Linked DNA regions of Homo sapiens: all the other regions are linked to region 1. The links are contacts of gene promoters, found by promoter capture Hi-C in human tissues and cell types (Jung and others, 2019). All regions are on one chromosome and are shown on one strand. The core of a region is centred on a gene start or on the middle of the fragment in contact, and the rest is flanking DNA. Distances in the headings are between cores, read along the strand shown.

The links. The method cuts DNA at HindIII sites, captures the fragments that hold promoters and counts their contacts. A contact is called where the count stands out against the background at its distance.
Region 2: a contact is called between a fragment that was not itself captured here and the fragment with the promoter of TLE1 in region 1, in 2 of the 25 tissues and cell types used here (mesenchymal stem cells and mesendoderm cells).
Region 3: a contact is called between a fragment that was not itself captured here and the fragment with the promoter of TLE1 in region 1, in 2 of the 25 tissues and cell types used here (lymphoblastoid cells and mesenchymal stem cells).
Region 4: a fragment that was not itself captured here is called in contact with the fragment with the promoter of TLE1 in region 1 in 1 of the 25 tissues and cell types used here (mesenchymal stem cells).

The regions. Positions count from the first base shown.
Region 1 is chr9:81,688,225-81,690,924 of GRCh38, reverse strand. TLE1 (TLE family member 1, transcriptional corepressor) reads left to right here and starts at 1,378. Exons shown (of 20, transcript NM_005077.5): 1 at 1,378-2,700. The coding sequence starts at 2,685. It overlaps TLE1-DT (TLE1 divergent transcript), which reads right to left and starts at 1,212. Exons shown (of 4, transcript NR_109772.1): 1 at 966-1,212. RefSeq lists silencers at 831-980, 1,131-1,480 and an enhancer at 1,353-2,067. The HindIII fragment of the contact is 9,578 bases long and covers 1-2,700 here.
Region 2 is chr9:81,176,129-81,178,828 of GRCh38, reverse strand. No RefSeq gene overlaps it. Among named protein-coding and RNA genes, the nearest start is that of TLE1, 510 kb to the left of the region's middle. The HindIII fragment of the contact is 4,846 bases long and covers 1-2,700 here.
Region 3 is chr9:82,267,134-82,269,833 of GRCh38, reverse strand. The region is part of intron 1 of LOC105376107 (a long non-coding RNA gene); the gene reads right to left. Among named protein-coding and RNA genes, the nearest start is that of SPATA31D1, 280 kb to the right of the region's middle. The HindIII fragment of the contact is 5,414 bases long and covers 1-2,700 here.
Region 4 is chr9:82,293,885-82,296,584 of GRCh38, reverse strand. All of the region lies in intron 4 of LOC105376107 (a long non-coding RNA gene), which reads right to left. Among named protein-coding and RNA genes, the nearest start is that of SPATA31D1, 310 kb to the right of the region's middle. The HindIII fragment of the contact is 5,658 bases long and covers 1-2,700 here.

The DNA.
Region 1 (2,700 bases), core at 129-2,628:
TACAGCATGTCTTGATTATTACAATCTCAAAATCCCTTTTAACTCAAGTTCCACTTCATAAGAACCTTAGCCACGTCATTTACCTAACTCTTCCCATTTAGCTCTTCACACAGCTCAGCTCAGGAGTACCACCCAGACTGTGGGGGTGGGGTGTGCGGGACAGGTTTTTCAGGTCTCAGTGCTGGTTTATTACATTGTCTCTCTTTGTTCCCAGGAATTGGAAACAGACTCGTAGTCTTGTAGCTGAGAAGTTCCTAAAAACCTCAGCCGCTCCCCACCTCTCCCAACACAGCGAAGTCAGGACTTTTAAGACGAAGACCTGGGATTTCGCGCCCCGGGCAAAACGTCTCATCTGCGGACACGCGTGCCTTGTTCTGGCAGCACCCTGGGAATCCTTCCCGCCAAACGGGACAGGACGATCTTTTTGAAAAGTGGCTTGAAATCCTGCAATAAAAATCAAATCCTACCACTTTGGGTGCAAAGGGGGTGGGTGGGGTGGGAGGACATCACAGTCGTCTTTGCTGGTGTACCTACGCCAACCGTGGCGTTGCTCATTTACGCATTTCCAACTAAGTGCACAGTCCACTCCCTCTCGTACATCCGTAAAAAGGCAGCTCAAGGAAAAACAAACCTCAGATAAATTTTTGAATGTGGCCTCACTTTTAGAGTAGCATCAAACAAGGGGTCCAGCACTGAAAAACACATTTGCTCGAATTACCAAAAGCCCCCCTCCGCCTCCAATAAGAAACTCCGCAGCTAGTCTTTGAGTTACTTTCACTTAGATCTGAGGATTTTCATTAAAGGGAAAAGTGAGCAAGTGGCAGGATTTTTGCTAACTCGAGCCCTCAGCTTCCCCGGCTGCACGCTCGCCAGTCCCTCCCGCTAGCGCGCGCCCGCGCGCTCTCTAGCCAGCCCCACGTTACTTTGATTGACAGCCCAGCCCCGCCGCTCTCCTTCCCACCGACCTTCCCATCATCAGTGCCAATCTCCGCGAATCGCCGCTTCCCATTGGCTGGTTTTGGCGTCCCGCGGCTCCTCCAGGAACAGTTCCTCACCAAGCCCGGGAGGACGCGGCTGGCGGAGGAGGGGCCGGGATGGGAAGGGAGACCGAGGAGACGGCGGAGATGGAAGCGAGAGGAGGGGGGGAGGGAGAACGCCCCGTCCGGCGCTGCGCTGCCATACGCTCCGGGGAGGAGCGCGTCAGCGCCCCACGTTGGTTGCAGCGCACGCGATTGGCTGATGCGGGCCTTCTGCCCCCCCCCCACCCCCCAACCTCCCGGGCTCACGTCCCCCGCCGGCTCCGCGCTCGCGCCCCCCGCCCGAACGGGGCTGGGCGGGGCCGGCGCTGGTTAGCTCCGGAGTGTGAAACCGCGTGTTAATGTAAGCGGCGCGAGAGGCGCGGGCGGCGGCGGCGGTGGGAGCGGCGGCTGCAGAAGCAGCAGCAGCAGAAACAGCGGCGGGTACTCTGTGCCCCGCGTCCCGGAGGCAGCCGACTGCGCCACCCCACCCTCGCACGGCCGGGCGGGACCCGCGCCACCAGCCCGGACCTCCGTCGTCCCGCGGCGACCAAAACCCCCGCTGGCCCCACCGCTGTGACTACTCTGGACTCGCCCGCAGAGTTTGCCCGCCGGGGAGGGTGGCCGATTGGCGGAGCGCACTCCTGCTGTTTTCCCCACCATCTCGTGGATGTCGTCCCTCGGGTGGTGAGAGAACTTTGCAGTGGGCTGGAGCGCCCTTTGCGGAGAAGCACACGAAGGTGAAGGAAGGAAAGAAAGAAGACCGAGGAAGAAGGAGCTCGGAAGAAGGGTCCGGAGCGGCCGGTCCGGCCGTGCAGGGCGAGTGCGCCCGAGGCGCGGCGCCCTGATGCTCCCCGGGCTCGAGGAGCATTGGGCACTTGCGGGACTGCTCTCGGTGGAGTAGCCCCGTCGGGCCCGGAGGGTTTGTGCAACCGCGGAGAACACCGAGTGCTGGTCGCACGGGGCGTGCCGAGCCGCCTCCCGGCGCGCCCTCCGCACTTTCCCCGCCTCGTCATCCGTCGCTCCCCGGCCAGGAGCCTCCGCTGCGTCTTCAACCTCGCTCCCCTTTGCGTCCCGGGAGCCTGCGAGCACCCGGCCGAAGGCGCAGCCGAATCTTGCGGGAGTCGCCCCGAAAGCGTCGGGTTTGTGTGGGGTTAGCGGGGGCCGCCGCGCCACCTGCACCTCGCCCGCCGCCGCCTCGGGGAAAGCCCGAAGAGGAGGCGGACCAGGAGAAGAGCAAAGAAAAGCAGTCCGTCTGGATTTGTTTGCCCAGGACTGGCGCCGCGCACGCGGATCGCCGAGGGGAGTGCGGTCGGAGTCACCGCGCCCCCGCCTCCCCGCCCGGGCAGCTGAGGCCGGGGGTTGGAGCGCTGCCCCCGCGCACAGTCCCCGAGCGCCCGACGTCTCCGCGCAGGTTCTTGAAGCAGCTGGGCCTGGGGCGCCCACTAATGTGGCCCTGAGGGCCGGAGCCCGCACCGACGGGAGCGGGAGCCGGAGCAGCTGCGGGCGCCGAGTGGCCGGTGCGCCCGGCGGAGCGCGCGTGCGTGGCCAGCGCGCTCCCCGCTTCTGCTTGGCTTTCCGGCTTAATTTTCCTCGGCGGGATTAAAGTTGGAAATTGACCGGAGAATTGAGTTGCCGGGGAACAGAGCCCCGGCCGCCGCCAGAGCGATGTTCCCGCAGAGCC
Region 2 (2,700 bases), core at 142-2,641, 510 kb after region 1:
AACTCTCATGTTGCTGATGAGAGTATAAAGTGCTACAACCACTTTGGAAAACTGTTTGGAAGTTTCTTAAAGGTTAAACATACCATATCACTCAGCCATTCTACTCTCAGATAGATACCCAAGAGAAATGAAAGCATAAAGGTCCATTCAAAAACCTGTATGTGAATGTTCATAGCAGTATTATTCATCATATCCAAAACAACCCAAATGGCCATACAACATTTGATTCTATTAATAGAAAATTCTACCAAATTAAGACTTTCCTATGATAAAAGTCAGATTGGCATTTGCCTGCGGTAAGAGGAGAGGGAAGGATGGACTGCAAAGGGATGCCAGAAAGCTTTTGAGGGTGATGAAAATGCTCTGTAATTGATTGTGGTTTTATAGGTGTATATATTTGTTAAAATTCATCAAATTGCATATTTTAAATGAATACTATTTCTTGTACATAAATTGGACTTCAATAAAATTGATAAAAAGAGACCCAGTCAAGGAAACACCTTGGACAGCTATGAGCAAAGCAAATCAGTATAGGAGTAAGAACCCATCCTGGAGTGAAAAGCAAAGCCAGGGACAAAATCTAGAGAGAAGAAAATCTGAGCTCGATTATTTTTGCCCTACAAATATTTCCTCTCTTTCAATTGACTAATGAGTGCAAACTTGTGGGATTAACTGATAACTAAGTCTGGGATAATAATAATGACAACACTTTAATAATTGCATCTATAATTTATAGATTGTTTATTCTATGACAGAATATACTACTAAGTTCTTCAAAATATATACACCATATATTTTGACCTCATTAAAAATTTGAGGGGTCATAGGGAGGTCTTCCACAATTTCCTGACTCTCTTTTTTCCCTCTTATATCCTCCCTTTTACCCTGCTCATCTGCTACTCTTGAGAAACAATTCTTTCTGTCTCTTACAGGGTGGTTCTCTACATATTCAGTCCTGTTTCAGGGTCTTATCTGTTATTCCAAACAGCTCTCTAAGAACCTTCCTTCAAAAAAATAAATTTCTACCCTTCTTAAAGAGGTTTCTGTAGTACAATTTTCTCCATTCAGAGATATGCATGCAGGCAGGCAACAAAATTAGGATTCTTTTTTAATGTTCATAATATCCCCCCCACGGCATGGAAATAATTGTCCTAATTTCCTTATGAAGAAACTAAAGTGTTAAAGGTTAAGAGAGCCTGCCTGAGTTTGTGCAATTACTAAGTGGTGAATCTAGGGTTTGGTTTCAGATCTTTCTGGTTTCAAACAATGCATTGTCCACCTCTTAAACTCATTCATTAAATAGAGATTGGGGCCTTGCCTAGCTGGAGTTAGAAGTGGTCCATGGCATTTGAAGCTGACAGTAGGCAGGGAGGCAGCATACTTAGATTAGTAGTTTGCTGGGAAATCCAGAACCAGGGCAAAGGGAGAGGCGTGGTTGGATATATAAAACACAATGCAATGATGAGGTTGGCATTTACTAATATGATGAATTTTTGTGTCTTTCCACAATGTGCCAAGCACCTTTCTAGGCTCTGAAGATCTAGCATCAAATATAACATAGCTCCCGCCTTCTGTGAGTTTCCAGTTGAGAGGAAGAGACAGACCCTTGGGTCAATGTTTGATATTCAGTAATTTGCAATACAGGTATGCACATGGTAGCCCAGGGGCTGGCACATACTTAGTATTCAGTAGTGATTAATCTATATCTATGCTGTGAGGCACAGACACACAACTTTAAGTCATACTGGCAAAGCCAGTAAAGGCATTTTTGAAGAGATGTTAAAGCACAAATATATAGGTGAAAAGTGAATGAAAGACATTCCAAGAAAATCCCTTGGCACCTGCTAATGCAGGTAGGCATGGCATAAAACTGAGTTGCCCAGGAACATTGAAGGCATTTGTCAGGGCTGGAGTGGAGGGTGAGTGTGAGCGAGGCAAGTGTTATGTATGAGGCAAGTGAGGGAGGTGAAGGACAAACTCTAAAAGGGTCTTGTGTGTTACCCATTAAGGAATTTCAACTTTTTCCTTTAAGCTTAGGGAGTCACAGAAGGACCTAGAGCAGGTGAATGTCATGATAAATTGTGATAGTGGAGATATGAAAAGATGGTTGCAAGTTGTCCCAGGAATGTAGCCTTCATTTTGACCTAACTCTTTCTGGCACACTGAGCAAGATGTGAGGATGCTTTGGCTATAGTATCTAGGAACACATTAATGGCTGACATTGATTCTGTCAGGTTGGCAAATTTCTTCTTTGAGATTGGTGGTAGAAAAAAGAAACTAAAAATTATTAAATATAAAGTTTATGCCAGACCCAGGGCTAGGTTCTTACTGAGTTATTTTATATAATTCTCACAATCATTATATGAATATTGATGCTACACTCAGATATTCAGGCACCCAGCCAGTTAAATACTGTGGCATCTGAGGCACAGTAAATGTTCTCTACATTTACCAGTTAGGCTGATCCCTACTACTGTTTTGTCCAAGATACTGGAAGCAGAAATAATGGGTGCCACTTTGAGACAGAGGAGGCAAGAGCCAGTGTGTATCTTCCATCTCTTTATTTCTTTACTATAGTAAACTTGGAAATACTTACAAGGTATTTCTGATGGCATAAATTCAAATTGAAGAACAGCCAACCAAGACATTGAGTGAGTAAGAAATATACCTCTATTTTTTGAGTCACTGAGATTTTAGAGT
Region 3 (2,700 bases), core at 156-2,655, 580 kb before region 1:
ATTCTAACGAACTTAAAATAAACTAACATGGTCTTCCCTTTACCAGGTAAACCATGTTAGTTTTTCCCATAATATGCTCCCATACCACCTTGTACTTCCTTATTGTAACACTGAAAACTGTAAGATCTAAGAAGGAAAGAGAGGGTGATTATCTTGTTATCAATTGTATTTTAGAGCCTAGACAGTGCATGACATAAATAATAAATATTTGCTGAATATACATTACAAATACATAAATTTTATTTCAGAGCTCTGTTACTTTAATTGGTACTAAATAATTTTTGCTAATTCTCCCAACAACCTAGCCATCTCTGTCCTTCTAGTTTACAAACATCATAATTAAATATTAGATTTGGTTCCTTTGTGTCTTCAAAGGGCACTGTAAGGCATTTATTTTATCCTCTCCATGTTTGATTTGAGAGAGCAGCACTAATTTTATTTCATAGATGACAAGCCTGGGGCAAAATCTTCTATATCTGGTCCCAGGAAACAAACACAATCTCTGAATAATAAAAGTGAAAGTGGGGCCGGGCTCAGTGGCTCATACCTGTAATCTCAGTGCTTTGGGAGGCCAAGGTGTTAGGACTGCTTGAGGCCAGGAGTTCAAGACTAGTCTGGGCAACATAGGGAGAGCCTGTTTCTACTAATAAAAAAAAAAAAAATTAGCTGGGCAGGCTACTGTAATCCTAGCAACTTGGGAGACTGAAGCAGGAGAATCTCTTGAGCCTGGTAGTTTGAGCCTGCAGTAAGTTGTGATCACACCATTGCACTCGAGCTTGGGCAATAGAGCAAGATCCTATCTCTAAAATAATTAATAATTTTTTTAATGAAGGAGAGAACTCAAGAAATCTTGATTTTTAATTTCATTTGTAATTTCTTATAAGGAAGAGAATCTTAAAATGCTTCCTGTGGAGGCCAAGCTTTGAGGATGTGCCTTTGCAGACACACAAACAAAATTAAAATCTGACAATGAAAATGCACTTAAAGAATCATCCAAAGTAAAAAAAAAAAAAATAGAATAATAAATACACATAGAGAAGCATACTGTAACACTGAGGTGGTCAAGGTGGAGTTTACTAAAGCCTGCTCTGTTGGCATTCCAAAGCATGTTATGACGGCATGGAGCAGAATAATAAAATTTGTATCCTTATGTGAAAAATAAAATTCAGATAAAAAAGAAGGTACATGAAGAAGTAATTTAAAGTCCCCCATTAGTGCATTTCTTTACAAATCAATTGGCCAGAGATAAAAGGTATTGCAGAGCTTTCCTTGCTCATTTTTATATAACTTCATGGAAGAAAAGATAGATGTGTTACTTTGTAAAAACACTGTACACAGACAAAATAGAAAAAAATTTTAAGCATTTAGTCCCATTTTTAATATAGCATCAGTCTGAAAAATGATGTGACACACAGGAGCTAAAGCTTGTATTAAAATGGTTACTAAAGGCCGGGCACGGTGGCTCACATCTGTAATCCTAGCACTTTGGGAGACCAAGGCGGGTGGATCACGAGGTCAGGAGATCGAGACCATCCTGGCTAACATGGTGAAACCCCGTCTCTAATAAAAATAAAAAATTAGCCGGGCATGGTGGCGGGTGCCTGTAGTCCCAGCTACCGGGGAGGCTGAGGCAGGAGAATGGCATGAACCCAGGAGGCGGAGTTTGCAGTGAGCTGAGATTGAGCCACTGCACTCCAGCCTGCCTGGGTGACAGAGCAAGACTCCGTCTCAAAAAAAAAAAAAAAGAAAGAAATAAAATGGTTACTAAAAGCCGGGTGCGGTGGCTCACGCCTGTAATCCCAGCACTTTGGGAGGCTGAGGTGGACAGATCACGAGGTCAGGAGTTTGAGGCCAGCCTGACCAACATGGTGAAATCCCATCTCTACTAAAAATACAAAAATTAGCTGGGCATGGTGGCATGTGCCTGTAATCCCAGCGACTCAGGAGGCTGAGGCAGGAGAATCGCTTGAACCCAGGAGGAAGAAGTTGCAGTGAGAGGAGATTGCGCCACTGCACTCCAGCTTGGGTGACAGAGCAAGTCCTTGTCTCAAAAAAAAAAAAAAAAAAAGGTTACTAAAATATATTCAACTATGTATTGTGTAGATGAGCCCTGATGCTGTATGCCAGGATATTCAAATAGAGCTGGACAAGCCACACAAATAAGTGTTCTCTTTATATTTTCTAGTTTGGGAATTATCTGTGATTCTAATGGCCTAGAATAGTGTAATTCACATTTCGTAGGGAACCTAACTAGGTATGTTAATCAAAATAAGCACATGTATTATATGATTATTTCTAATGAAAATGCAGATGTATGTTTGTTTATAAAATAAACCTCATTAACTAAGCATATTCCAAACACAATATGATTCCACTACCTGATATATTTAACAAGTGGAACAAGTTCAGTTTGGCATGTTAGGGTTATAATGTCACAGGACTTACAACTACAGATATTTTATGGGGAAATGACACAAACTAAGTCTTTGAATATAATATGCTAAGCATAAATATCTGTAAAACTGACTGGTGGAAAATTTTTGGATTTCTAACAAGCAAAGGCACTAAAATATGTAAAGTATATAAATTACTATTTTAAATATTTCTTGATGATATAAAGAATATTAGAAACATATATCCCTATAAAAGAAGTGAATATGACTGACTTAGGCACATGAGCATGAACTTACTCTTAGTTGG
Region 4 (2,700 bases), core at 67-2,566, 610 kb before region 1:
TGACCATGCATTGCACAAGGTCTAGTAGCCCTGGACTCCATCCATTAAGCATCACTTGTGCCCCAAACCATTGTGAACTCCAAAAAATGCCCCCATACATTTTCAAAAATCCTTGCAAAGACGTTTGCAATCTCCTCCACAGTGTCCCTCCTAATTAACCCATACCCCTTTCTCACTTGCTTCACCCCTAGCACAGTTATGGGCAAATGTCTTCATTGCTGTGTTCCAATCAAGCCCAGGAAGCAGCTTGTTTCTCTCTGTTCTGTGTATCTGTTCCCTGTCTATGTCTACAGTGTTATCAGGGAATCACCCTGACAGCATCAAATCCCTTAACCTAATTATTATAATGTCTTAATGAACAATCATTAAGAATGACTATTCCTGCACCCATTGAGAACCAATTTATTTAGTAACAATGAGAAACAAAATACTGATTTCACCAAACATTGTGAAAAAGAGGATGGGAGAAGGGGAATAATGTATGTTGGAGGCAAATGGAGTTTAAAAGAGTTAAACCTTTATCTTTCATATCTGTCATAATAAAAATAAAAACTCAATATGTAATATCTAAAACTGAAGAATCAAGAACCGCAAGTATAACTGTGTTATATAGAAAAATGGTGGCAAATACCAGAAGCATTGACAGAATGAAAAGTGGTGGTTCTTGAAAGCAGGACTGACAGTAGGGAAAAAGAGGTCAAAGGTCTGCTGGTTTTCATTGTAAACCTTGTAACATTATTACTCTTTCCAGAAATAGAACATCTATGGCTTACTTTGATGAAACTTTAATTGACAAAATCGTTAACTCCTTCACCTGCTCCAAGGCTAAACAGTCACAGTTACTGTTACCTTGCATGAAATGATTTTATTAAATAAAATCTTACTATAGGTTCAGTTACCTGGTTTCAACTTGTGCTAAAGCTAGTTCTAACAGGAATAAAATATTGAAACTGTCACTCATACTCTAATATTATCCTTGGTTAACCGTGTCTGTGATGCCAACTACACACCCAATCAAACATCTAAAGTTACGAACTGGCTGCAGAGTTGGTGCCCTGGTTACAAAACACTGACCAGCTGTAGGAAACACAGAGGGGAAAAAGTTATGCCTTGGCTACTGAGCACAATCCATGCTCAGTGCTAACGATCCTATGTCAGTCCATAAATTATAATGGCTAACACTGGAACATTAACACCACCCAAAAACACACTCGTAAGCAAGCCCGAGCGGCAAAATGAGGTCATGGAGAGGCTTAAATCTATTTTAGGATATATCTTGAACACCAGTATAGTTCCTTTGACACCACCTGTTCTCATTTGGAGGACTGTATATTGAAGTCCCACAACAGCAACTGGGCTCAAACCCAGTGCTGACTCTACAGTCCAGTTCAGGATAAATGCTGTCTTGTCATTAGGTGCTGACCTTTAGATGAGACATTTAAGTCCCTCTGACAACATTCCCCACCTTCTGCTTAATTGGCACAGTATAAAAGATGTGGCTGAGAGAGCATTCGACAGTGGTCATAGTTGCCTGCATAATATCATAGTAAAAGAAGCATGTGAAAAAATAGGTGGATAATATAATCCAATACAATAAATCACTTTTGCTGAGGATCACAGTGGCATCAAGATGACAACTTGCACTCACACTAGGAATTTACTTATTCTCCATAAAACTATTCTTGCCCCATTTCATAATGAAATCTCAGTGTTTGGGATGAGTACCTACCTTCATATATAACATGTGCCAGTACCCTCCAAAAAAGATGAGCTTATGTCCAGATTTCTTTCAAAGTCACAATTCCTAAGTGTGGTAAAGTTGGTATAACTTGGTTTTTAAAGCCATCAAAGAAAACTTTAATAGTTAACTTAAAATCATTTCAAATAATAGGTGATATGGTTTGGATGTATGTCCTCACTGAATCTCATGTTGAATTGTAATCCCCAGTGTTGGAGGTGGGGCCTGGTGGGAGGTGATTGGATCATGGGGATGATTATTCATGAATGGTTTAGCACCATCCCCTCAGTGTTGTTCTCATGACAGTGAGTGAGTGAGATATCCAGAGATCTGGTTGTTTAAAAGAGTATGACACCTCGCCACTCTCTCTCTTTCTCCTGCTCCAGTCATTCCAGTCATGTGAAGTGCTGGCTTTCCTTTTGCCTTCTGCCCTGATTGTAAGTTTCCTGAGGGCTCCTCAAAAGCTGAGCAGATGTCAGCATCATGCTTCCTGTACAGCCTGAGGAACTGTCAGCCAATAAAACTTCTTTTATTTATAAATTACCCAGTCTCAAGTATTTCTTTATAGCAGTGCCTGAACAGACGAATACAATATGTAAATCAAAATATAAATTACTGATACCCTTTGGAGTACAAAGGAATTGGTTAGCAAAAGTTAGAAATTAAAGGCTTAAGGTTTTTGCCACAAAAATTTTCAGTTGTTTTTTGCTGAATTTCACAAATGCTTCTGCACTTGAGAAAGTGAATGCATGTTGTTTTGTAGCATTGTAAAGTATTTATAATGTCTTCATCATGTGCTCAAAACTAAACCACTGGCTTCCAAACCTTTCAAGTCATTCCATTTTCTCCCAGCACCTAATACTGCTTTCCCCTCCCCTATAGTTCACAATAAATGTTGATTACATGAAATTCTGTGCACAAAGAACAAATACATGACTATGAATCTAAAGTTCTCTTTACCA